7 separate regions of the Homo sapiens genome follow, and all the other regions are linked to region 7. The links are contacts of gene promoters, found by promoter capture Hi-C in human tissues and cell types (Jung and others, 2019). All regions are on one chromosome and are shown on one strand. Each heading gives the region's core, a stretch centred on a gene start or on the middle of the fragment in contact. The rest is flanking DNA. Distances are from core to core; before and after follow the strand shown. Region 1 overlaps MYO9B (myosin IXB). Region 2 holds the start of BABAM1 (BRISC and BRCA1 A complex member 1). Region 3 holds the start of SLC35E1 (solute carrier family 35 member E1). Region 4 holds the start of CALR3 (calreticulin 3). Region 5 holds the start of CHERP (calcium homeostasis endoplasmic reticulum protein). Region 6 overlaps NR2F6 (nuclear receptor subfamily 2 group F member 6). Region 7 holds the start of SIN3B (SIN3 transcription regulator family member B).

Region 1 (3,604 bases), core at 793-3,292, 350 kb after region 7:
TTGCCCAGGCTAATCTCAAACTCCTGGCCTCAAGCCATCTTCCCACCTCAGCCTCCCAAAGTGATGGGACTACAGGCATGAGCCACCACACCCAGTCCTCTTTTTTTTTTTTCTTGCCTCCGTTACCCCAAAGACAAAGTGACTTCTGACCTGCGGTAGCAGAAGCAGCATCCATCTCCCCAGGGCCTGGCCACAGGGCTGCAGGTCCCGCCCAAGGAGCATGTTAAGTTTATACAGATTCTCCCTTTCAGCTGCTCAATGCTAGATTTCTCATTTGACGGCTCTGAGGAGTTCGATATTAACGCTTTTGAGGACATCATTGCTTTCTATGAAAGCAAGAAGTAAGTGCAGAAAGGGCCTTTGATCCCGAGGCCAGCAAGGCACCAAGGGGAGCCATCTTCCCCAGGTGCTCAGTGCTGCGTCCAGGACACAGACAGAGAGGACTGGCCGTTCAGGGAATGCCAGGGCCTGCAAGGGCCACTCCTGCCAGATTTGCAGATTTAGCCAGGTCGGCAGGGCTGCGGGTGGGCCAAAGTCATGGGCCTCATTCCAAGCCGTGGCCGCTGCACTGACCACCCTGGGTGTGAAGGCCACTCGCATATAGAGGTGACAGGCGACCCCTCTGTTGCCTTTGCTCTGCCTCCCTGGAGGGCTGGGGAGAGCAGGTAAGTGGGGCCATGGGGGCACTTGGCATGGTGCATGGAGCACAGGGGCTGGGGTCGGGTCCTTCCAGGCCACCTGCCGAGAGCTAAAACATGTGCTTTGAACGACTGCCAGCAGGATGCGGTAGCACGCACCTGCAATCCCAGCGCTTTGGGAGGCCAAAGCCGGAGGATCACTTGAGGCCAGGAGTTTGAAACCAGCCTGGGCAACATAGCAAGACCACACGCCTACAAGAAAAAATAAATAAAATGTCTGGAATAAGGAATTCAAAAAAAAAAAAAAAGCAGGAAAAACCAGATCCTCATTTCTAGAAGTTCTGAGTTCTGTCAAAAACATTTGTCATTTAGACATTCCTCACTAATATTTAGTTTGAAAGCATCCAGTTTTCATCTCTAAGGCATTCTAATTCACACACGGTATCAGTGCCAAAGTTTGCACCTCCGCGTGCGTGCTCAAGCCTAAGCCCACAGCCATCAAACAAAATGAAGCGAGTAAGGTTGAGTGCTTTGAGGGTAATTATCCCCTTAAACTAGGGTTTCTCTGGCCGGGCGCAGTGGCTCACCCCTGTAATCCCAGCACTTGGGGGAGGCATACGTGGGCAGGTCACTTGAGGATGGGAATTCAAGACCAGCCTGGCCAACATGGTGAAACCCTGTGTCTACTAAAAATACAAAAATTAGCCAGGCGTGGTGTGCACCTGTAATCCTAGCTACTGGGGAGGCTGAGGCAGGAGAATCACTTGAACCTGGGAGGCGGGGTTTGCAGTGAGCCGAGATCACACCACTGCACTCCAGCCTGGGCAACAGAGCAAGACTCTGTAAAAAAAAAAAAAAAAAAAAACTAGGGTTTCTCAACCTCAGCACTGTGCCAGATCATTCTCTGGGGTGGGCACCCGTCCTGTAGACTGTAGGGTGTTGAGCAGCATCCCTGGCCTCCACCCACCAGATGCCAGGAGAGCACCCCCACCCCCAAGTCATGGCAACCACAAATGTCTGCAGACATTGGCAGATGTCCCCTGATGGGGATGGTACCGCCCCGGTTGAGAACTGCTGTGTTCAAACTGTGGCTCTTGTATTCAAATTAATTCCTCCAAAGGCCTTAATGAAGCCAACAAGGAGATTGACATCTGGCCACAAAATCATGGAGAGAGACTAATTTGCTCCTCCCACAGAGACCCTCCCTAGGGTCTTTTTTCTGAGTCGCCCCAACTGATTTTTTTTTTTTTTTTTTTTTTTTTAGACAGAGTCTCACTCTGTTGCCCAGGCTGGAGTGCAGTGGTGCGATCTCGGCTCACTACAACCTCTGCCTCCCAGGTTCAAGCGATTGTCGTGCCTCAGCCTCCGGAGTGACTGGGACTACAGGCATGCGCCACCATGCCCAGCTAATTTTTGTGTGTTTAGTAGAGACGGGGTTTCACCATGTTGGCCAGGCTGGTCTTGAACTCCCTACCTCAGGTGATCTGCCCTGCTCAGCCTCCGAAAGTGCTGGGATTACAGGCATGAGCCACCGCGCCCAGCCTGTCATGGAATTTAAAAAATAAATAGGCTGAGCAGGGTGATGCATGTCTGTAATCCCAGCTACTCAGGAGGCTGAGGCAGGAGAATCGCTTGAACCTGGAAAGTGGAGGTTGCAGTGAGCTGAGATCGCACCACTGCACTCCAGCCTGGGCAACAGAGCAAGACACTGTTTCCAAAAAAAAATAAAATAAAAATAAAAATAAATTTAAAACTAAATAAATATCCCCAGCCAGGCGCGGTGGCTCACACCTGTAATCCCAGCACTTTGGAAGGCTGAGGTGGGCCGATCACAAGGTCAGGAGTTCAAGACCTCCCTGACCAACATGATGAAACCCCATCTCTACTAAAAATACAAAAATTAGCCGGGCATGGTGGTGCACGCCTGTAATCCTAGCTATTTAGGAGGCTGAGGCAGGAGAATTGCTTGAACCCAGGAGGCAGAGGTTGCAGTGAGCTGAGATTGCGCCATTGTACTCCAGCCTGGGCGACAGAGTGAGACTCCGTCTCAATAAATAAATAAATAAATAAATATCCCCAAAGGCTCTTAAATATGAGAACTTTTTCAGTGATCCAAATGAAAAGGATCGAATAAAGTGGAATGACCAGATGGAAATAATTTTTTTTTTTTTTTTTTTTTTTTTGAGACAGAGTCTCGCTCTGTCTCCCAGGCTGGAGTGCAATGGATGGCACTATCTCAGCTCACTGCAACCTCTGCCTCCCGGGTTCAAGCAATTCTGCCTCAGCCTCCCACGTAGCTGGGATTACAGGTGCCCTCCACCATGCCCAGCTAACTTTTTGTATTTTTAGCAGAGATGAGTTTCGCCATGTTGGCCAGGCTGGTCTCGAACTCCTGACCTCAGGTGATCCACCCGCCTCGGCCTCTCAAAGTGCTGGGATTACAGGTGTGAGCCACCGCACCCAGCTGGAAATGATGTATTGAAAAGGATCAATGATCTGTGTTGCCAAGTCCAATTTGCCTCAAAGCCCTGCCCCGCTCCAGGGCTTGGGGAGGCTGGCCCAGTCCCCATTTCTGGCAAAAGAGAGAGGGGCAGCATTGAGCACAGTGTCTTTCCCCCAGCTGCATGTTTTGGCTTCAGTGGCCTGGGGATGGTCCCAATGGCGCTGGGAACCCCGAGGTGGCAGGCCTGCTTCTAACTCCATCTTCTTTCTGTCACTGCGCCCCCTCCACCCCTCCCCTCAGCGATTTGCATAACCAAATGATCAAGAGCATCAAAGGATTGCCCTGGCAGGGCGAGGACCCCCGTAGCCTTCTCCAGTCCCTCAGTCGGCTCCAGAAACCCCGCGCCTTCATCCTGTGAGTCCCCCACCAAGGCCCTGCTTACAAGTGCGACAACCGCCTCCCACTACTCCTGCGACCCCGGCGGGGCCTGCAGTCTTCCTAATTTGCATCGGCCACTAAAACC
Region 2 (3,829 bases), core at 1,330-3,829, 440 kb after region 7:
CTGCAGCCCTAGCGGGGCACACATACCTGACTCCCAAGGTTTCAGCCCCTCCTCTTCTCAGCCTCCAAACTCATGGCCCTTCTAGCTCTGACTCTTGGATTTTATTTCTCAAGAGCTAGAATGGGCCGAGCACCATGGCTCACACCTGTAATCCCAGCACTCTGGGAAGCTGAGGAAGACAGATCGCTTGAGTCCAAGAGTTTAAGACAAGCCTGGGCAACATGGCGAGACCCCCGTCTTTACAAAAAATATAAAAATTAGCCAGGAGTAGTGGCGTACGCTTGTAGTCCCAGCTACTCAGGAGGCTGAGGTGGGAGGATTGCTTAACACCTGGAAGTTGAGGCTGCAGTGAGCCGTGGTCACGTCACTGCACTCCATTCTGGGTAATAAGGCAAGACCCTGTCTCAAAAAGAAAGAAAAAAAAAGAGCTAGAATGTTCCCGTGAGCTGATGGTTTTTATTTGGCTCCCCTGTGAACTTTTCTTCTCTGCCTGTCTCTTCATTGTGGGCTGACAGTTCTCTTTTTTTTGAGATGGAGTCTTGCTCTGTCGCCTAGGCTAGAGTGCAGTGGCGCAACCTTGGCTCATTGCAACCTCCACCTCCTGGGTTCAAGAAATTCTCCTGCCTCAGCCTCCCGAGTAGCTGGGATTACAAGTGCCCACCACAATGCCCAGCTAATTTTTGTATTTTTAGTAGAGACAGGGTTTCACCATGCTGACCAGGCTGGTCTCGAACTCCTGACCTCAAGTGATCTGCCAGCCTCGGCCTCCCAAAGTGCTGGGATTACAGGCGTGAGCCACCGCACCCGGCTAGGGATGGGTTTTTCCCATGTTGGCGAGGCTGGTCTTAAACTCCTGACCTCAGGTGATCCACTCACCTCAGCCTCCCAAAGTGTTGGGATTACAGGCATGAGCCACCGACCCCACCAGCCCCAGAAACATTTAAGAGCCACTTGAAGCCTCAGTTTATTTATTTATTTTATTTTATTAGATGGAATCTTGTTCTGCCACGCAGGCTGGAGTGCAGTGGTGCGATCTCGGCTCACTGCAACCTCCACCTCCTGGGTTCAAGCAATTCTTCTGCCTCAGCCTTCTGAGTAGCTGTGATTATAGGTGCGCGCCACCACACCCAGCTAATTTTTTGTATTTTTAGTAGAGACGGGGTTTCACCATATTGGCCAGGCTGATCTCTAACTCCTGACCTCGTGATCCACCCACCTCAGCCTCCCAAAATGCTGGGATTATAGGTGTGAGCCACTGCCCCCAACTCCTCAGTTGTTTTTTTTTTTTTGAGGGTCAAAGAAGCCGGCCACATTGGCCAGGCTCTAATTCGAGAATAGCCGGAGGGGCTGTGTAAGGTGAGCTTTGAAGCATAAAGAACTTGCCAGAAAAGCAACAGGAGGAACAGCATTCCAGGCAGAAGGAACTTCCTGGGCAAAGGCTTAGAGCCTTCAAAGAGCCGCTCTAGGTGACACAGCGAGACTCCATCTCAAAAAAACAAAAACAAAAACGAAAAAAAAAAACACAACAAAAACCCAGCTCTACTAAAAATACTATATATATCTCAGCCGGGCCTGGTGGTGCATGCCTGTAATCCCAGCTACTTGGGAGGCTGAGGCAGGAGAATTGCTCGATCCCTGGAGGTGGAGGTTGCAGTGAGCCGAGATTGAGCCACTGCACTCCAGCCTGGGCGACAGAGCAAGACTCTTGTCTCAAAAAAATAAAAATAAATAAATAAATACTTCTGGGGCTAAGGGGGAAGTGTGCACTAAGAAGACAACGGCAGCCTGGGCGACAGAGTGAGACTCCATCTAAAAAATAAAAATAAAAAAAAAAGGAAGGAAGCCTAGGGTAGTCTGATGCGGTGGTCCTCGCCTGTAGTCCCAGCTACTTGAGCGATCGCTTGGCTGTAGTGACTAGCCATGATCGCGTGACTGCAGTCTAGTTTGGGCGACAGAGCGATACCCTGTCTCTAAAAATAAGAAAAAAAAAAGCCATGAAAAAAGAGGTAGGCTTGAAATAGGCCCGACTTAGCTTCGCTCCACCTACAGTGACCCAATAAGACCAGAGTAAGTATTTTTTGATTCATGCAAATATATGTAAAATAAGGAACAAGAATTAAGTAATTGGGAAGGGCCCTGGATGCTCAGGCCACACCCACATGGGAATACCTGCCCCACATGGAGGCTCAGGCCAGCTCCACCAATCACCAATCAGCTCCTCCTCTTTCCCTAAATCGGCCTTCTCCGTCCCTCTTAGCCTATCACATTGCAAGCTCCACCTCTATTCCACGTTTCAGCCTATCACGGTAGAAGCACTGACTATTGTAGTCTGATTCGGCCAAAAACAAAAATTCACTAATTTTTTTAATCCAATCACATTTCATACTTTGCTCCAGTGTAGCCAATCACATTCCAGGTCCCGCCGCACCCAGCTCCAGGCAGCTCTCACTCCAAACCCCACCCCCAACCCAGTTTCAGCCTATCAGTTTCCAAGTTCTTTCTAGCCTCAACCAGTTTCTGTCTCTGCTTGTTCTGCAGCCCGCTGAACTACATTTCCCAGGAGGCGTCGGGGCTGCGCCGTACAACTTCCGGCTGTAAAGATGGCGGCTTCCTAGTGAGTCGGCGGCTGATTTAGAAGGAGGTTCAGGCTACGGTGAGCCGAAGGTGGGTGGTGAAAGCGTGTGGGGCCCGTTCCTAGGGGCCCAGCTCCCTTTGCCCCAAGAGATCCAGCTCCTCGCCTTTCCTGGGGCTTCCGCCTTTATTTCTGGTTTCTCCTGCAGTGTAGCCTCCATCCTTCTTGCTGCCGCTAAAGCCTTGTTTTTCTTAGAGGTGTGGGGACTGCAAGGCGCTCAAAGACCATCTTGGGAAGCCCGTGCCTATTTCCCAGATAGACAAACTGCTCCATTCGCGTCCTGTTTCTCTCCAAGGGGAACCACAGTACTAATATTTTGCTTCTCCCTCATGCAGACACCCGCTAGGGACGAGGGTGTCCTAGAGGTTATTATTCCCTTATTCACCAAGACATTTTCAGTTTTAGGTAACAGAAAACCCTACTCAATCTGGCTTAAGGAAGAAAAGGAAGTTGGTGGCTTATAGATTGGGTCTAACAGGAGCTGGGTCCAGGTGGTCAGAATTCGATCTGCAGTTTTCTCGGTGGAGACCATTTCGCTTTTTACCGAGGCAAAAGGGGCCCCTCACAGCTCTCAACTTTATTCTACCAGCTCTGCAACTCTAATGAGAGTCTCTTTTCCTTGATGACACTGCTAGAAGTTGCAGAGCTGCCACTCAATGGCCTGATTTGGGTCATGTGCCCATCCCTGAGCCATTTTCAGTGGCCAGAGAGCTGGGATGTGCTCACTGGCCGAGTAGGGGCATGGGGCTAGCACTACGTTAAAAAAAAAAAGAGGAAAAAAGAGGGGGGACTGTTATCTTATGTCGGAGTGGCTGCTCGGCTGAGAGGTGTAAAAGGCAGCCATTCTGCAGCTGAGGAAAGTGACTCCCTAAGAGGAGTGACTCATCATCAGTAAGCGGCTCATCGCCCCTCTTCCTTCTTAGTAACCAATCTTTTTTTTTTTTTTTTTTTTGAGACGGAGTTTCGCTCTTTTTGCCCAGGATGGAGTGCAGTGGCGGGATCTCGGCTCACCGCAGCCTCCCCTCCCGGGTTCAAGCGATTCTCCTGCCTCAGCCTCCCGAGTAGCTGGGATTATCCGCATGCGCCACCACGCCCGGCTAATTTTGTATTTTTAGTTGAGACGGGGTTTCTCCATGTTGGTCAGGCTGGTCTCGAACTTCCAACCTCAGGTGATCCACCTGCCTCGGCCTCCCAAAG
Region 3 (3,424 bases), core at 93-2,592, 260 kb before region 7:
GGGCAAGAGTAAAACTCCGTCTCAAAAAAAAAAAAAAAAAAGTGAACACCTAACCGACAGCGTTCTGATCCATCCATCCCTAGTCCCACTGGAAAGGCCACACATGGGGTGTATGGCCAAGATGTGACCAACCCATCACCTACCAGCAAACCCAGGTAGGGAATCAAAACGGGGAGGAAAATTGGATCTGAAAGGGACAACAGTGTTCCTAAGACCACACAGCAGAGATCACAGAGGGACACATACTCCACACACCACTGCTCACAGGGTGATTCTAGAACTTGAGTAGTAAAAGGCCACTGGAGACCTCTACACTGACTTCCCTATTTGACGGGAAGCCAGGCAGCCTGCAGACCAGGATCCTGACCACGTCACCAGTTGGCAACAGGGAGGAACCCCCTGGAGCTCCCATCTGCCCAGAGTCCCTGCCCGGGGTTACCTTGGTGCTCTGCTTCTCCTTCATAATGATCCGGGACAGGAGGACCACCCAGATGGGCATGGTGGCCTTGACTGCAAAGAGAGGGATGGGCACTCAGGGGGCTGCCTGAATTTCAGGGCCCAACCTGTTCCACCTCCACGGCGGGATGGGAGGGCCTGGCAGCCCCTCACACCTCTTCGCCCCTTCTCTTTCGGTAGGGCTTCCTCCTGCCACGGCTGTTGTGGTCTGTCCTGCTTACCTCTCAGCTCTCTTCTCAGCTCCTCTTCTCCCTGAGAACCCCGTGCGTGTCCCTCCCCTACCAAACCCTTGGCAGCCCCTCTGCTGACTTCTCAGTCCGGCGGGACGCGCCCCGGGCGGCGCACTCCTATCCATGCGCCCAAACCCGAAGCGGCGGGCCCGGCCGCCGCCCCCGAGGCCGGGCGCGGAACCTACCGGTGTGTGCATAGGACACGGGCACCTTCCAGATGCTGACGTGCGCTGACACGGACGCGAAGTACTTGCCGAAGGCGAGCGGTAGCACGTAGCGCGGGTAGAAGCGCGGCGGCAGCAGCGGGCCGGACGACGGATGCGGACTGGGTCCGGGGCCCGAGACGGGCGGCGCGGGGGGCACGCGCCAGGCGCGCAGCAGCGGCGGGAGCCCAGCGCACAGAGCCAGGATGTGGCACAGCGACACGGTCACCGGGAACGGGAAGGCGCTCAGGATCACCTTGTTGACCACGTTGCCGCCCGCGCTCAGCGCGTACCACAGCAGGCACAGCGCCGCCACCCGCGCGCCCTCGCGCGCCCCACCACTGCTGCTCGCTGCGCCCGGGCCCCCCGCGCCGTGGCCCGCGCCCACCGCGGCCGCCGCCATCCTGCCCGAGCGGCCGCCCCTTCCAGCCCGTCCGACGGCCCGACGCCGGGCGGGGGCGGGGCTGGGCGGGGGGGCAGGCGCCCCGGTCTACGCCGTTTCCCATTGGTCGCTGCCTCCTCGCGTCATCCCTCCGCGCCGGCCGACGCGCCAGCCACCACGTCTCGAGTGCAGGCCCAGTCCACTGTAGATGCGCTTCCGGCGGAGCCGAGGCCGGAAGCGGAAGAAGGGGACACAGACCTGCGTCCAAGCTGTGCCACCTGAGACGTGGGCGGTCCCAGTGACCGGGAGCCGGAGCTCGAACGGGACGGGCGAACAGAAGCGCGGAGGGCTTCGCAGCGTCGGCGTCTGTGCGTGGGCCAAACATCAGGGCCTCGACCAGGGATACAAGGGCAACCGCTAACTAGATTCCTGATTCCTGATGGCTGGCGGCGGCTGACACCAAAGGTAAAAGGCCTTTTAGGGAAAGAAACCATTTGTGAAAAGCTCTTGGGCTAAACTCGCTCTGCAAACTGGGGGCGCACGCTCGTGGCCAAACTCTGGCAGTGGGACTATCCCGGAGCACCCGATCCCTGGAATCATGTTCTGGAAACCACCGCGACGTGCGCAGTTCTCGGGCGTGGCCCTGGTATCATCCCACTGAATCCTAGGAACGCGGTGCGGTAGGTATCACTGTCCGCATTTCACAGACCGAAGTCCAGAATGGGGAAGCGACTTGTCTTAGGCTTCCTGGCCACACTGGGGACCGTGGTCATGGTAGCGTCCTTGGACACCTGTCTCCAAGGCTCTGCAGAAGGGGGAGGTGCCGGGCCCTGACGGCTGATGTCCAAGGACCAGCCGGGATGGACCAGCCCCAGGAGGCCCCAGTGGAGGAAAACAGGACGAGGTTTTCAGTAAGATGATCTTATACTAATTCAAGGGCTATAATTTGTTCTCCACATCGTGTGCCTCCAACTTTTTCGGGGAAAGGGTGTTAAAATTCCGTTACAGTGTTTTTACTTGTCAAATTAGAAGCAGCAACCGGCTGGGTGCAGTGAGTCAAGCTTGGAATCCCAGCACTTTGGGAGGCCAAGGTGGGCGGATTGCTTGAGCTCAGGAGTTGGAGATCGTGGCATCGATAACATGGCAGAACCTCATCTTTGCAAAAAATACAAAAATTAGCCAGGCGTGGTGGCGCACGCCTGTGGTACCCACTACTAGGGAGACTGAGGTGGGTGGATCGGCTTGAGCCCAGGTCAAGGTTCCAGTGAGCTATGATGGCGCCACTGCACTGCAGCCTGGGTGACAGAGCGAGACCCAGTCTCAAAGAAAAGTAGAAAGCAGCAACCCAACTTGGCTCCCCAAATGTTGGAAGGTATCTTAGCTTATCCTTGCATTCTCAAAGGCCCTAGGCCCTTCTGGATACATGGACACAGGCATGGTAGTCCCTGCAGGCAGGGGTAGTGGGGAGCTGCAACCTATCCCAAAACTCTAGAGATGCTGATAGGAGGCCAAGCTCTGCACCCTAATATCCTCCAGCTGTACCCTCTGTGGATCAGAGTAAAGTCACATCCTTGGGACACCATGTCTCAGCAGAGCTGTTAAACATAGGCACAGTGAAATTAGGAAAGTATAACTATAGGCACCCTACAGCACAGCTGAGTGTCAGATACTTCCACTGACACACTGACATGCTTTGTGTTTTAGTTCTCACAACTCTGGGGTATTCTCACCCCCCAAATGGGGACATGTGCACAGGAGTGAAGAGATGAGCTCAGAGCCACACAGCTGGTGGGTGGTAGGCCTGGGTTCAACCTCATCCTGCCTTCAAAGCCACTTTGCCCATGGCCTTTTGTTGGGGAGGGGAGTGTGTTCTGCACCAAGCTTTTGCCAGGAATCCCTGCTAGCTCTCAAACTGGCTCTGGACTGACTGTAGTCTTACAGGCTGGAAGGAACCTTTGGTTTGCCCTGTGAGACTGCATGTCTTAAGGTGTAGCTGTTTCTTCATTTGTGAAATTAAGCAGATATGGGTAAGATGACCTATTCCAAAGTGAAAAACTGGAAAACCAAAGTCTTAGCCTACAGTTTCAGGGACGAGGGGGAACTAAAAGATGAGCACTTTATAGTCAAGGGAGAAAAATTTTTTTGGAGTCAGC
Region 4 (3,623 bases), core at 217-2,716, 330 kb before region 7:
ACCCACTAACCTTTTCCTTCTGAGGGGCATGGCCCTTGATCCTCAAATGCACTTGACTAGTGTCTATTAAGAGGGGCAATTTTGGTAATGCCTACTAATAACACATTCATATAAATATAATCCAAAGAAGGTTAAATACCATTGCATATTTGACAGTGCTTCAAGTATGATTTTATTATACCAAATAAGCTGAATATGTCTCCTTGGACTTCAGGGGACCTAATACCAATAAAAGTAATAATAATGATAATAGGCCAAGCACCATGGCTCACGCCTATAATCCCAGCACTTTAGGAGGCCGAGGCAGGTGGATTACTTAAGGCCAGGAGTTTGAGTCCAGCCTGGGCAATGTGGTGAAACTCTGTCTCTAAAAAAATTAGCAGGGCATGGTGGCGCACGCTTGTAATCGCAGCTCCTCAGAAGCCTGAAGCAAGAGAATCACTTGAACCCGGGAGACGGAGGTTTGAGTGAGCCAAGATCGTGCCACTGCACTCTAGCCTAGGCGACAGAGCGAGACTCCTACTACCAAAAAAAAAAAAAAAAAAAAAAAGGAATCTTTGGCAATAAAGAAAGGAGAGAGGAGGCTGGATGTTGTGGCTCATGCCTGTAATCCCAGCACTTTGGGAGGCCAAGGTGGGTGGATCATGAGGTCAGGAGTTCGAGACCAGCCTGGCCAACGTGGACCCTGTCTCTACTAAAAGTACAAAAATTAGCCGGTCATGGTGGCGCGCGCCTGTAGTCTCAGCTACTCGGGAGGCTGAGGCAGGAGAATTGCTTGAACCCGGGAGGTGGAAGTTGCAGTGAGCCGAAATCGCGCCACTGCACTCCAGCCTGGGCAACAGAGCAAGGCTCCGTCTCAAAAAAAAAAAAAAAAAAAAAGGAGAGAAGAAACAAAAAAACAAGGAAAGGAGCCCCTTAAGTTCTACCTTTGCCTTAATGTCTTCATCTGTAAAACGGGAATAAAAGCGTTTTGGCTGTGCCACAACTACCTAGAGAGGTTGCTATGGAAATGTAACATTAGGCTCAATTTGGTCCTGATTCTACACTAACCTTTATCTTTCTCTTTATGACCATAAAACTTGCCCGACGAAAGTCTAAAATGCCCAAATCGGGAGTCATTGGTGGACTGCAACCATCGGTTTCTCCAATGCTCTGTGGGGAAGGGGAAATAACACCGGTTAGAGGTGATAATGGTTAATTTGGGCTAAGGGAAGGGTGAAGGGGACCCTCGAGGATTCGAGGGTTCGCTGCCGTGGACCCCGTGGCGACTCTGGCCAGCCTTAGGGGGCGGAGATGGGGGAGCTTACACCTCCGCCACCACGGGCGTGGCCCCTTCACCTCCGTCTAGAAATTCCTCTTGGAAATAGACGGTAGCCAGCGCCACTCGCAGCATGCATATGGCCCAGAGCTGGACCAAAGCCCGGGCCATGGGGGTGTGCACTGCGCTTCCGGTCGCCGCCACCCCTTAGCTCCCAGCTCTCTCTGCGGCTCTTCAGGCGCGTCCCGAAACTACAACTCCCGTCACAACTCGCGATTATGACCTGAGGGTCCCATTGGTCGCTGCGGCGCGGGGCACGTTGGGCCCGCCCCGGAACTACCGCTCCCATGACACCCCGCGATTGTGATTCGGGGCGCCATTGGTCTGCGGGGCGCGGTGCTTCCCGGGAGATGTAGTCTCTTCTGCTCTGGCTCTGTTGCCCAGGGCAACCGCTCCTTCAGGCGTGAATGTGGCGGCTGCCTCTGCGAATGGACGGCGTGGGAAGAGGTCGGCAGGGCTGGTGGGGAGGTGACCTAGCTGGGCGTCCGGGCTCGCGAGGGGGATACGGGGAAATGGGGCCTTCTCCGGGGCTGAGCTGGTTGGGCCGCTGCAGGATGGTCCCGCGCCTCAGTTTCCCTGTCTGGGGTCTATTGGAGCATGGTCCTGCGCGGGTCGCTTCATAGCTGGGGAGAAGAGCAGGATGGTCTCAGGGGCGCCAGGGTTTTCAAGTTTTGGTTTGTTGATTTGTAACAACTTTATTGAGCCTTCATTTACATACCATAGTGTTCGCCACTTTTAAGCTGACGACTCCGTTATTTTTAGTAAATCTACAAAGTTGTGAAGCCGTCGCCACCATCCAGCTCATCCAGCTTTAGAACTTTGCGTCAGGCCGGGCGCGGTGATTCACGCCTGGAATCCCAGCACTTTGGGAGGCAGAGGCGGGAGGATCACTTGAGGCCAGGAGATCCAGACCAGCCTGGGCAACCTGGCGAGACCCCATCTCTAAAAAAGATAAAAATAAAAAATTAGCCAGGTGTAGTGGCACGCGCCTGTAGTCCCAGCTACTCAGGATGTTGAGGCAGGAGGGAGGATTGCTTGTGTCCAGGAGGTCAAGGGCTGCTGTGAGCTGTGATCATGCCACTGCACTCCGGCTAATTTTTTGTATTTTTAGTAGAGATGGGGTTTCACCATGTTTGCCACGCTGGTCTCGAACTCCTGACCTCACGTAATCTGCCAGCCTTGGCCTCCCAAAGTGCTGGGATTATAGGCGTGAGTCACAGCACCGGCCCGATCTGCTTTCTGAGTTTATTGGTTTGCCTTTTCTTGACAGTTCTTACAAATGAAATGATAGGGTGTGTGGAGTTTAGTGTCTGGCTACTTTCTTTTTTCTTTCCTTTTTTTTTTTTTTTTGAGACAGATTCTCGCTCTGTTACTTAGGCTGAAGTGCAATGGTGCGATCTCGGCTCACTGCGAACTCCGCCTCCCAGGTTCAAGCAATTCTCCTGTCTCAGCGTCCTGAGTATTTGGGATTACAGGCGCATGACACCACGCCCCGCTAATTTTTGTATTGTTAGTAGAGACGGGGTTTTACCATGTGTGTCAGGCTGGTCTCGATCTCCTGACCTCGTGATCCGCCCGCCTTAGCCTCCCAAAGTGCTGGGATTACAGGCGTGAGCCACTGCGCCCGGCTTGGCTACTTTCCCTTAGCGTGATGTATTTGAGATTCCTGCGTGCTGTTATATTAGTATTTGTTTTTTAAATTGCTGAACTGTATTACACTGTATGGATGGACCATAGTTTGTAATCCATTCACTAATTAATGGATAGTTACATTGTTTTCCGTTTTAGTCTACTAGGAGTAATAAATATTATGGGGCCAGGTATGATGATGTGGGATTGTAATCTCAGCATTTTGGGAGGCTGAGGCTGCGGATCTCTAGAACCCCAGGAATCTGAGAACAGCCTGGGCAACACAGTGAGACCTTGTTTCTACAAAAAGTTAGCTAGGCATGGCAATGTGTGTCTGTAGTCCCAGCTACCCAGGAAGCTGAGGTGGGAGGATCGCGTGACCCCGGGAGGTCGAGGCTGTAGTGAGCCATGATAACACCACTGCACTCAGCCTGGGCAACAGAGTGAGAGCCTGTCTCAAAACAAAACAAAACTATTACGAACATTTGCATACATTTGCATTTCTCTTGGGCCACATGGGAGTGGAATCCCTGGATCACATGGTAACTCTATGTCTAACCTTTTGAGGAACCAACTGTTTTCCACATTGAGGACTACATAATTTTACAATTCCCCCAACAACATATGAGGGTTCCAATTTCTTTATTTTTTTTAGAGATAGGGTCTTGCCCTATCA
Region 5 (3,681 bases), core at 790-3,289, 290 kb before region 7:
AGTCTCATTCTGTCACCCAGGCTGGAGCGCAATGGTGTGGTCTCGGCTCAATGCAACCTCCAGCTCCCAGGTTCAAGCGATTCTTCTGCCTCAGCCTCTCCAGTAGCTGGGACTACAGGTGTGTGCCACCACACCTGACTAAGTTTTGTAATTTTAGTAGAGATAGGGTTTCACTATGTTAGCCAGGCTGTTCTCAGACTCCTAACCTCAAGTGATCTGCCCGCTTCAGCCTCCCAAAGTGCTGGGATTACAGGCGTCAGCCACTACGCCTGGCCTCCTTTCAAGCCTTTTCTTTTTCTTTCTTTCTTTTTTTTTTTTGAGATGGAGTCTTACTCTGTCACTCAGACTGCAGTGCAATGGCGTGGTCTTGGCTTACCGCAACCTCCACCTCCCGGGTTCAAGCGATTCTCCCGCCTCAGCCTCCCAAGTAGCTGGGACTACAGGCGCGGGCCACCACACCCGGCTAATTTTTGTATTTTTCGTAGAAACAGGGTTTCACTATGTTGGCCAGGCTGGTCTCAGACTCCTAACCTCAAGTGATCTGCCCGCCTTGGACTCCCAAAGTGCTGTGATTACAGTATGAGCCACTGCAACAGGCCTCCTTTCAAGCTGTTTAATCGAACACCAACTGTGTGTTATGTATTAAGGGACAATGACCTTGTACCTTAATACAAGACGAGCGTGTAGTCCCCTGAACTACACGCTCGCCGAAGCCAAACAGACCTTGTTTGGGTCATTGTACCTTAATACATAACACACAATTGGCGTTCGATCAAACAGCGGACAACCACCTCTCAATGTCCATCTACCTGGCAAACTCCTAGTTATTCATTTAAACAATCTAGAGACGGGGTTGGGTACTGAACGTGACAGATGTGATACCTGCCCTGAGCAGCCGCACCACCTGGTGACTATCCATTATTCAAAGGCCAGCTCTGCTTCCTAACTTTAAACTTCTTTAGAGCAGGACTGGAATCCTGTTGCCTAAATGAACGAACATTGATAAACACTTGCCAATAACTAAAACTCAGAGGGATAATTCTTTTTGATTTCTGCTGCAGGCATCTGAAATGCACAAAACCTTGCTGGACCCACAGGGAGACGGCAAAGGGGGCTGGACAGTGCCTGTCCCATGGACTCCCATCCGGCCTCTATCACTTCCTCCCTAGAAAACACTAAAACAATCACGCTACTCCTGCTAATCTCCGTCATCAGTCTGCAAAACAACAGCAAAATCCCTGATCCAGAGCCCAGGGGGGAGGATCGAAAACCTCGTTGTTCTCCATTACAGTGGCACCCAGCAGCCGCTCTGTGCAGGGCCGTGGGAACAGCGGAACAGGGATCGTGTGGACCGAGCTGCTCCACTTCAAAGAATAAACGACCCGAAAGAAAGAGGTTTGTGGCAGAGCCCGGACTGGAATCCGAGAAAGGAAGCGCTCGATGGGACGGCCTGAGTGCCGGAGGGGACTCACGCTGCTGCTGCTCCAGCGCCAGCTTGCACTTGTAGTAACTGTAGAATTCGCCTCCGAAAAGAAACGAGAATTTGGGGTTGTCCTTCTGCTTCTCCATAGTCATCTTCTCAAACTCGGGCCCATTGCGAGCCACGAACTGGGCGAGCTTGTCGATGACATTTCGAAGCTCCTGGTCTGGAGGACGGAGAAAAGGCCACGCGGGGCGTCAGCGAGGACCGCCCAAAGCCGGGGGACTCGGCGCCCCAGCCCCCGTCCGCCTTGCCGGGGACCCCAAGGGGGTGGGCCCCGAAGAGGCCGCCCTTGTACGGGTCCCGATAGGGGCCACACGCTCGCCGGGAATGCGGGGACCCACGGGAGAGGCCGCAGGCGAAGCCGCGAGGCCGAGCCCCGCCCCCTCCCAGACCCGGGGACTCCGGGAGGCGGGGCCGGCCAATAGGAGGTTCCGGGGAGAGAGAAACGGTCTCTCGGCCGGTTTGGGTCTCACCATCGGGGGGCAGCGGCATCTCCATGGCTCCGGCCGCGGGGAACGTCCTCCGGCGCCACACGATCGACCACCAGCGCCGTCTGCGGAAGCCGGCCGGAAGTGGCGCGAGGGAGCCGTTTACGGCGGGCTTCTAGGGCCGCTTCCGCCCGCCACTTACGGCCGTCGCTGGGAAACTCCGGAAGTGAGAGCGGGAGGCAGGCGGGAAGAAGCCGCGCGATGCCTGGCGCGCGGGAGGGGCTAGCGACGCGCACGCGCAGAAGTTTCCTGACACTTTCGCAGAGTGGGTCCCCGTCGCGCGGCGCCGCGGAAAGGCTGGAACGGCGCGGGTGGGTGTTAGTCGAGACCGGGGGGCGCGGGGCGTGCCCCTTGGTCGGCGTCGCAGCCCGATGGGCTGGCTGGTTGCTACCTCCGGGCGACCAGGGGCCTGGGGACTTCGTGCCTGGGCCAGGGTCTCTTTCCTTTCGCGGGCACAGTGAGGAGACTGCGAGGTGAGGTGCGTCCGGGTGGATCCCGGGCTGCGGCGACTGTCACATTCTCCCCGGCCAGACCGGAGGTGGAGCAGAACTGGGGGCGACGAGCTTGACTGGGATTGCAGCTGGACGTATTTAGGTTCAAAACATCCTCCTCCTGGCTTTCTTCCGCTCCACTCTTTGGTCAGGAAGACTGGGGCGGGGTACCCCCCAACCCATGCCCTCAAATTGCTGGCCTAGAGGGCACAGCGCCTTTCTAAAAGCTGCAGTTGGGTTGCCTCTAAAATAATGAAGCTAACCCTTGCTAATTGTGGGGAAAAGATAGCCAGAAGCAGCAAATTTCTGCTGTGGACGTCCGATATAAACTGATCCTCTTGAGATGGTTAATGCTTAGTTGGCTATACCTGCCCCCCGCCCCCGCCGCTTTTTTTTCCTTTATCCGTTTTTTTTTTTCTTTTTTCTTGAGACAAGGTCTTGCTCTGTGGCCCACGCTGGAGTGCAGTGTCATGATCATAGCTCACTAGCCCTGAACTCCTGTGCTCAAGTAATCCTCCCGCCTCGGCCTCCCAAAGTGCTAGGATTATAGGCATGAGCTACTTTACCCAGCCTGTTTTTTTCTGTGCAAATAAATGCACATGTATTTTAGATTAGTTTCATTTTTATTGTTAACAGCATTTTTCCACCAGATGCTTATGGATTGACAACTCTACATCAAGTGTTGCTGTAGGCTAGGAATCAACAAAACTTTTTGTATAAAAGGGACAGAAAGCAAATATTTTAGACTCTGCAGGTCAGGAGGCAAGATCAAGGATTTTTTTTTTTCTAAATGTCCTCTAGTTCATATTTTCTCATGAAGATCGAGGATCTTAATTGTTTGGTTTTTTTTTTTTTTTGAGACACAGTCTTGCTCTCTCTCGCCCAAGCTGGAGTGCAGTGGTGTGATCTCGGTTCACTGCAACCTCTGCCTCCCGTGCTCAAGCAATTCTCCTGCCTCAGCCTCCAGGGGAGCTGGGACTACAGGTGCGCACCACCACGCCCGGCTAATTTTTGCATTTTTAGTAGAGATGGGGTTTCACCAGGTTGGCCATGCTGGTCTTGAACTCCTGACCTCACATGATCTGCCTGCCTTGGCCTCCCAGACTGCTGGGATTACAGGTGTGAGCCACCCTACCCAGCCTTATTTAGGTATTTCTATAACCAGAAAGAAAAGTTCATAAAATTTTTGTTGGTGAAAATCAAAATATGATAACTGAGT
Region 6 (3,828 bases), core at 1,021-3,520, 410 kb after region 7:
GCACGTACTCACCCTCCTTCCTCATGCCCACCCGGAAGCACTTCTTGAGACGGCAGTACTGGCACTGGTTCCGGTGGTGCTGGTCGATCTGGCAGTCACGGTTGGACCTGGGGGCACACAGAAGCCAGGGCTCCCTGAGACCCCCATATCCTCCTCCCCGAACCAGCCTATGAGCCGCCTTTGGAGGCTGCCCCTCAGAAATACTAGTAGGGGCCCTCTAGACTGGAGAGGTAGCCCCAAAGGGGTACAGGAGCTCAGCTTGCAGGTCTGCAAACCAGACAGGATAACCCGGATGAGTGGTGATGGATGAAGAGGAATCTGTGGAAAAGCAGATGAACACCCCAGGGAGGGCACATTGGCATGGGTTTTGAAGGATGAATAGGAGTTCTCCAGGTGAATGGCGGGGTGATCCCAGAGAGAGGGTACAGCCAGAGCAAAAGGGTTGAAATACACAAATATGGAGGCCTAAAGAGTTTCATTTTATTTGGTCACTGTCAGGCTGAGCAGGGTCATTGTCCCCAAAAAGATGTGAAGGCAAAGAGGACATGGTCAGAGAGCTGGACTTTGTGAATTAACTAGGGGTCAGGCCAGGGGCTAGTGGTCTGTGGGGTCATAGCATTGTGGGGCCCCAGCATTATCACCCGCACAATGCCCACCCCAAGGAATGAGGAAGTAAACAAAGTCACTCTGGTCCTCAGCCCTGAAGGCCCCACACCTACGCTCTTCCGAGAGGACCACCCAACCCCTATGCAAGCTGGAGATTTTCCTGGTCAGCCCTCAGTGAATGCCGTTGCCTCTTGCAGGGATGAGACAGGTGGCCCCACCCTGAGAGGTGGTGAGCTCCCCATCCTGGGTCAGCCCCCAAGCAGGAAGGTCCAGGCCTTATTCTTCAAATGTCCCCAGAACCTTCTCCCCTTGGCCCCTGCCCTTGGACTCCCCTGGTCTCTTGCCACCAGGAGCTGGGGGCTCTCCAAGGCCTGGGCCTGGAGCAACTACCCCTGGGGTTCCAGCTGGACACCCAGGGGACACACAGAGACAGTCACAGAGTAGAACCACCACTTAAGGGAATTAAACAGATGCATCTCTGCAGTGGCTCACGCCTGTAATCCCAGCACTTTGGGAGGCGGGGGAGGGTGGATCACCTGAGGTCAGTTCAAGACCAGCCTGGCCAACATGGTGAAACCCCGTCTCTACTAAAAATACAAAAATGAGCTGGGCGTGGTGGCGCATGCCTGTAATCCCAGCTACTTGGCAGGCTGAGGAAGGAGAATCGCTTGAACTGGGGAGGTGGAGGTTGCAGTGAGCCAAGATTGACCCACTGCATTCCAGCCAGGGTGACAGAGTGAGACTCTGTCTCAAAAAAAAAGAAAAAAAAAAAGGCTGGGTGCAGTGGCTCATGCCTGTAATCCCAGCACTTTGGGAGGCCGAGGCGGGCGGATCACCTGAGGTTGGGAGTTTGAGACCAGCCTGAACAACATAGAGAAAACCTGTCTCTACTAAAAATACAAAATTAGCCGGGCATGGTGGCGCATGCCTGTAATCCCAGCTATTTGGGAGGCTGAGGCAGGAGAACCGCTTGAACCCGGGAGGCAGAGGTTGCAGTGAGTTGAGATCACGCCATCGCACTCCAGCCTGGGCAACAAGAGTGAAACTCCGTCTCAAAAACAAAACAAAACAAAACAAAACAGATGAATCTCAGCTGCAGATACCCAGCCCTGCCCCTCAGGTGGCGACTGCCCCACTGAGCCTCGGTTTCCTCATCTGAAAATGGGAGGTCAGATATTGCCCTATCATATGGGATGGACTGGGTCAGAGGGGTTCACGGGGGACAGTGCCAAGACCCAGAGCCCAGCCGGAGAACCCAACTTAGGAAAGCTGAGGATCTGCGCCCACTCCCCCGTACCCCCCCTCCACCACTGCCTGGGTCCTGCAGCACCAGCCACTGAGCCCCTGGGAAGAGGCCCCACTAGGGCAGAGGGAGCTCAGGCAGAACCAGAACAAAGCCCAGCGGCTGGGTGGTGGGAGGGTCCAGGGCAGCCGGGTGGAAACGGCCTGGCCTGGGGCGGCCCTGCAGGCAGGCAGAGGCCCAGCTCAGGGGCCCCTGACCTCAGGGGAGGCCCTGAACCTTCAGTCTCAACTTCCCCAGCTGTGGAATTGGGACAGATCCATCCCTCCAAGGAGGGAAACAGTTAAGTTCTTCCTGTTATCCCACCTAAAGAGTGCAAGCTTTTTTGCCCAACCCCATGGCCCAACTCAGCTTCCTCCCTGGGCTTCTGGCCTCCAGTCCAATTTGATCAGAGCCCTCTCCTGCTCACACACCCTCTATGGCTCCCCATTACCCTCAGCCAGCATTTCAGGCCCACCTAGCTCTGACTTCTCCCATGGCTGCACAGTCCCCCTCTTACAGCACAGCTCCCCCAGTCTGCCACTAAGTGTTTTGTCTGGACCACATTCTGGCATGTCCCTGTGGCCTTTCTTCCACCTGCCAACTCCATGCTTCAAGGCTCATGTCCCCTAGCCTCCTCCAGGCAGCCCTCTCTGACCTCCAGGCAGAGCCTCTGCTCTCTCCCTGGGACCCCAGATCCCACAGACTTGGGGCATCTGTCTCACTGTGTCTCCTCCAGACTGGGGGCTTCTCAGGAGCTAGACTTGGAGCTGGGGTCTCTCTGGAGGGGCTGGCATCAAACTACCCAGGCTGGGCCCCAGCGAGACCCTGCTCAATCCATTTGAAGCTCAGAATGGAATGGTGATTTCACCAGGTCACACAACTGACACAGCACAAACCTGTCAGCTCCAAGCAAGGCCCCCCCCACCCAAAATTGCTGCTCCCTGACACCACCCTCAGGAAGCTCCTGGGACCCCAAAACTGCCTGAGCCCCCCTCCCTTACCCTCCCTAAAGATATGACCAGAGAGCAGGCGGTTTTCCAGCAGCAAGAATGAGGCCAAAGTCTAGTGGCCCACTTTGTGCTGGAGGAGGGAGCAAGGCAGCTCTGCCACACATGGCCACACCAGGCCAGCCCTGACCCGGGACCTGGGGCCAAACTCCACCCTCGGGTACCTGGGGCCCTATTTGGTGGCCTCAGCCAACAAGCCTTCCATCAGCCGTTCTCCCTGGGGCCACTCCGATCCGAACTCAGCGGTCCCCACCCTAGCCCCACAGTTCCCCCACAGTGCCCCCAACTCGGGCAGCGTCCCTCCATGTCCAACGCAAAGCAGGCACCAGGACCTCTCTCTGGGCCTTTGGGCCTCTGTTTTGGGCAGCTGGGAACTGAGACCGTCTAGACGGGCTCCACAGAGACCCTGCATGTTCCTGGGGTGCAGAGTAGGGGCTTATAAACGGACAGATCGGATGCTCGCCCGGGAACGGTGAGAAAAGAACTCCCGGGCTGGACAACCCCGATCGCTTTCCCTGGGGACCTTCCGCCAGAACAGCTAGCAAGGCCACGCCCTGCCAGAGAGGTCTCCGACCTGGGACAGCCCAAGGCTCCTGCTCGGAAACGTTTCACTCCCTGCCCGTCTCAGAGACACCCAAAGTTTGAGGGATTTTTCCAGGAGCCCCAGGTCTGCACCCACCCCTGGGGGAGAGGGACGTTTCAGTCAATTCCGGTGGCCCTGCCGGCCTTCCAGTGGCGATTTCCGGTGACCCAAGGCCCAGAGTGAGCCCAGAGGGGTTCCCTGAGATGGGCAAGCCCAGCTCCCACCCCCACCCCCACCGCTGGGCCCCTCATGCGAAGAAGGCCGCCCCGTGCCACCCCAGCCTCCCTCCGTCTGCCGCCTCCGTAGCCACAGCGACTTTGGAAGTGATATTTGACCCCAAGGGCGCGCCG
Region 7 (3,504 bases), core at 377-2,876:
AAAAGTGGAGTTTTTTGTTTTTCTGTTTTTTTTTTTTTAAGAGATGAGATGCTCTTTAAAAAAAAAAAAAAAAAAAAGCACTGCTATGCTTCCCAGGCTGGGGTGTGCAGTGGCAAGATCATGGCTCACTGCAGCCTTGAACTCTTGGGCATGAGCAATCCTGCCTCAGCCTCCCGAGTAGCTGGGACTAAACGTGTGCACCACCACGCCCAGCTAATTTTTTCATTTTATTTTATTATTTAATTAATTAATTAATTAATTTTTTGAGACAGAGTTTTTGCTCTTGTTGCCCAGGCTGGAGTGCAATGGCGTGATCTTGGCTCACTGCAACCTCCGCCTCCCGGGTTCAAGCAATTCTCTTGCCTCAGCCTCCCGAGTAGCTGGGATTACAGGCATGCGCCACAAAGCCCGGCTAATTTTGTATTTTTAGTAGAGACGGGGTTTCTCCATGTTGGTCAGGCTAATCTCCAACTCCAGACCTCAGGTGATCTGCCCGCCTCGGCGTCCCAAAGTGCTGGGATTACAGGCGTGAGCCACGGCGCCCAGCCAATTTTTTCATTTTCTTTTTCTTTTTTTCAAGGCCCGGCTAATTTTTTGTATTTTTAGTAGAGACGGGGTTGCACCGTGTTAGCCAGGATGGTCTCTATCTCCTGACCTCGTGATCCGTCCGCCTCGGCCTCCCAAAGTGCTGGGATTACAGGCGTGAGCCACCATCCCCAGCCTAGAGTTCTTGATAGTATCAGGGCTGAGAAAGTACCAGAGTTAGAGCCAGGTGGGGTGGCACTAAAAGTACAAAAAATTAGCAGGGCGCAGTGGCGGGCGCCTGTAGTCCCAGCTACTCAGGAGGCTGAGGCAGGAGAATGGTGTGAACTCGGGAGGCGGAGCTTGCAGTGAGCGGAAATCGCGCCACTGCACTCCAGCCTGGGCGACAGAGCGAGACTCTGTCTCAAAAAAAAAAAAAAAAAAAAAAAAAAAAAAAGAAAGTACCAGAGTTAGGAGGCTCCTAAACTGGTCCAGATGGGAAGTGACGGGGCCAAGGATAGGGAAGTGAAGATGGGAGGAGTAGGACTAACTTAAAGGCCATTTAGCAAAAATTCACCACGCAAGGCCCTATATTAGGGCGCTGGGGGCTCATACCTCATCGTCCCGTCAACTCTATAAAGCAGGGGCCAACAAACTTTTTCCATAAAAGGCCAGATCGTAAATACTTCAGGGTCTGCAGATCTGTAGGATCTTTAGCAACTACCTACTCTGTTGTAAGGCGAAAGCAGGCAGAGAAGCCAGGTAAACGCGTGGGCGTGTCTGTGTGCTAATAAAACTTTATTCAGGGACCCTCAAATGTGAATTTCACAAACTTTTCACAGGTCATAGACTATTCTTCTTTGGATTTTTCCCCCGGCTATGTAAACATGTAAAAATAATTCTGAGCTTGCGGGGCCGGACAAAGTAGGCGGCGGGTCTTGGCTCGCCTACCCCTGCTATATAAATCATTAATTATGATACCAATCTTAAGGAGAAGGTCTTCAGAAGAGTCCCTCAAAGAGCACCGCCCCTCAACGTCATCAAACCCCGCCTCCAAAGGCGGAGGCTGCGCATGCGCGGCAGGACCTCGGGCGGGGGCGGGGCGGGGCGCAGCTCCGACTTCGGACATGGCGCACGCTGGCGGTGGCAGCGGTGGCAGCGGTGCCGGCGGCCCCGCGGGCCGGGGGCTGAGCGGCGCCCGCTGGGGTCGCTCGGGCTCCGCAGGCCACGAGAAGCTGCCGGTGCACGTGAGTGGCGTCCCCGCCCTCCCTCGGGGAACCCATCTTCTGGACCCCGCGGGCGGGCGCCCCTCACCCAGGCCCCGCCCGGCCCCAGCCCCACCTCGGCCTCCCCTCTGCACTGCCCCGGACCCCTCACCCCTCACCTCTCACCTCGGCCCTCCGAAAGCCCAGCCCATCCCCTTCCCCTCAGGGACCCCGGCCCCTCGTCCCCTCGTTCCGCGGCCAGGGCCCACCGGGACCCTCCCCCTCTCTGCAGGTAGAAGACGCCCTCACCTATCTGGACCAGGTGAAGATCCGCTTTGGCAGCGACCCTGCCACCTACAACGGCTTCCTGGAGATCATGAAGGAGTTCAAAAGCCAGAGGTACCAGCGGGGCCCCTCTCCACCTCAGGGGACCCCCCTGGGCCGGAATCGGGCCTAGCGGGGTGAGACCTCCCCTCTCCAGCCTGCCCCCTTAGCCGGGTGACCTTGCGCAGGTTGTCCAATCTCTCAGAGCCCTAGCTCCTTCTCGTAACAAAAATGGAAATGGGTAGTACCCACCTTGTGGAGCTTTGTGGGGATTCCTGGAAGCAGGACAGGGATCTGGGGGGAGGCAGGGAGGGCGAGGCCGTGCACACTCATAGAGTCAAATCCTGCCTTGATTTAATATGTTGATTTTTATATTAGTTTTGTTCATGAAAGATTTGGTGGGACCCATTTTGATTTTTATTTTCAAGCGCTGTAAAATGTTATTGTCTTGATGATTGAAATTTTTGGCACCCTCTTCCCCTTTAATCTTGTCCTCAAGATGCTTCTCTGGGCTCACTGTGGTCCCAGGCCTGCTTGGAAGTAAGACGCATAAAATGCTTAGTAAGGGAGCTGGCACACAGAAAACGTTTAAAACACATGAGATGATTTTGCAGGCCCAGAATCAAGGAAGATTACAGATAGATGGGAAACCCTGGGATCATGCCCTTGTTTTTATAGGAGACTCACTGAGGTTTGGAGTGGGTAAGGGACCCACCTAAGTGGCAGAGGTGTCACTAGAACTCAGACCCTCTGACTCAGATTCTTGGAAGTCACATGCTTACCATACTGCTGCCCCCTCTTAGGAAACATGGTGGGGCTGGCCTGGTTTCCTTCCGGGAGCCCAGTGCTAAGGGCTGGGCTGCAATGCAGCCAGAAGGGAGACCCCATCTCTCCCCTCCTATTTTTCTTACACCTTTCCCATTCTTGGCAGTACCATTGGTATTTATGCATTGCAATTGTTTGCTCAGATGGAAACCTGTGTCATAGTCATCTCTATCTGATACAAAATGAGGGAAGTTTTCACATTGCTTAGAGGACTTTGGCCTCCTGCCATTTCTTGGAGTCCAGGCCTTGCGGTTGGCTCTCCTGACATTTTCAGAACCGAGTACCCATTCTTGGAGTGTTTTAGGGGAGCTGAGCGATGTCAGTATTCTCTGGTTCTCACCAGGAGGGAACAGGGAGCTCAGGCCTAGCCAGTCAGGAGATAGGTCATGGTGTACAGATGCTATCACATGGGGGCACTTTTTTTTTTTTTTTTGAGATGGATTCTCGTGCTGTCGCCCAGGCTGGAGTGCAGTGGTGTGATCTGGGCTCACTGCAGCCTCCGCCTCCCGGGTGCAAGTGATTCTTGTGCCTCTGCCTCCTGAGTAGCTGGGACTGCAGGCACGCACCACCACTCCAAGTTCGTTTTTGTATTTTTAGTACAGACAGGGTTTCACCATGTTGACCAGTC

What was found. The method cuts DNA at HindIII sites, captures the fragments that hold promoters and counts their contacts. A contact is called where the count stands out against the background at its distance.
Region 1: a contact is called between a fragment that was not itself captured here and the fragment with the promoter of SIN3B in region 7, in 1 of the 25 tissues and cell types used here (H1 embryonic stem cells).
Region 2: the fragment with the promoter of BABAM1 here is called in contact with the fragment with the promoter of SIN3B in region 7 in 2 of the 25 tissues and cell types used here (IMR-90 fibroblasts and heart left ventricle).
Region 3: the fragment with the promoter of SLC35E1 here is called in contact with the fragment with the promoter of SIN3B in region 7 in 1 of the 25 tissues and cell types used here (H1 embryonic stem cells).
Region 4: the fragment with the promoter of CALR3 here is called in contact with the fragment with the promoter of SIN3B in region 7 in 2 of the 25 tissues and cell types used here (IMR-90 fibroblasts and pancreas).
Region 5: a contact is called between the fragment with the promoter of CHERP here and the fragment with the promoter of SIN3B in region 7, in 1 of the 25 tissues and cell types used here (mesenchymal stem cells).
Region 6: a contact is called between a fragment that was not itself captured here and the fragment with the promoter of SIN3B in region 7, in 2 of the 25 tissues and cell types used here (lymphoblastoid cells and spleen).

The regions. Positions count from the first base shown.
Region 1 is chr19:17,177,546-17,181,149 of GRCh38, forward strand. It overlaps MYO9B (myosin IXB), which reads left to right. Exons shown (of 40, transcript NM_004145.4): 15 at 3,382-3,495. Among named protein-coding and RNA genes, the nearest start is that of USE1, 36 kb to the right of the region's middle. RefSeq lists a silencer at 219-402 and an enhancer at 3,028-3,604. The HindIII fragment of the contact is 3,887 bases long and covers 100-3,604 here.
Region 2 is chr19:17,264,864-17,268,692 of GRCh38, forward strand. It overlaps BABAM1 (BRISC and BRCA1 A complex member 1), which reads left to right and starts at 2,580. Exons shown (of 9, transcript NM_014173.4): 1 at 2,580-2,664. RefSeq lists enhancers at 1,630-2,089, 2,350-2,849, 2,357-3,068. The HindIII fragment of the contact is 20,462 bases long and covers 1-3,829 here.
Region 3 is chr19:16,571,073-16,574,496 of GRCh38, forward strand. It overlaps SLC35E1 (solute carrier family 35 member E1), which reads right to left and starts at 1,343. Exons shown (of 6, transcript NM_024881.5): 1 at 872-1,343; 2 at 440-510. The coding sequence starts at 1,292. It overlaps LOC105372295 (a long non-coding RNA gene), which reads left to right and starts at 1,478. Exons shown (of 3, transcript XR_936360.3): 1 at 1,478-1,736. RefSeq lists silencers at 710-839, 1,000-1,109, 1,240-1,459 and enhancers at 1,378-2,252, 1,560-1,649. The HindIII fragment of the contact is 29,713 bases long and covers 1-2,742 here.
Region 4 is chr19:16,494,701-16,498,323 of GRCh38, forward strand. CALR3 (calreticulin 3) reads right to left here and starts at 1,467. Exons shown (of 9, transcript NM_145046.5): 1 at 1,339-1,467; 2 at 1,051-1,152. The coding sequence starts at 1,429. C19orf44 (chromosome 19 open reading frame 44) reads left to right here and starts at 1,694. Exons shown (of 9, transcript NM_032207.4): 1 at 1,694-1,765. RefSeq lists enhancers at 731-1,231, 1,232-1,732, 1,367-1,796. The HindIII fragment of the contact is 12,389 bases long and covers 1-3,623 here.
Region 5 is chr19:16,540,398-16,544,078 of GRCh38, forward strand. CHERP (calcium homeostasis endoplasmic reticulum protein) reads right to left here and starts at 2,040. Exons shown (of 17, transcript NM_006387.6): 1 at 1,957-2,040; 2 at 1,473-1,646. The coding sequence starts at 1,981. RefSeq lists silencers at 1,672-1,741, 1,752-1,941. The HindIII fragment of the contact is 9,580 bases long and covers 1-3,681 here.
Region 6 is chr19:17,240,659-17,244,486 of GRCh38, forward strand. It overlaps NR2F6 (nuclear receptor subfamily 2 group F member 6), which reads right to left. Exons shown (of 4, transcript NM_005234.4): 2 at 13-107. Among named protein-coding and RNA genes, the nearest start is that of NR2F6, 3.3 kb to the right of the region's middle. The HindIII fragment of the contact is 5,712 bases long and covers 1-3,828 here.
Region 7 is chr19:16,827,772-16,831,275 of GRCh38, forward strand. SIN3B (SIN3 transcription regulator family member B) reads left to right here and starts at 1,627. Exons shown (of 19, transcript NM_001297595.2): 1 at 1,627-1,769; 2 at 2,020-2,126. The coding sequence starts at 1,650. RefSeq lists an enhancer at 1,353-1,854 and a silencer at 1,595-1,774. The HindIII fragment of the contact is 27,079 bases long and covers 1-3,504 here.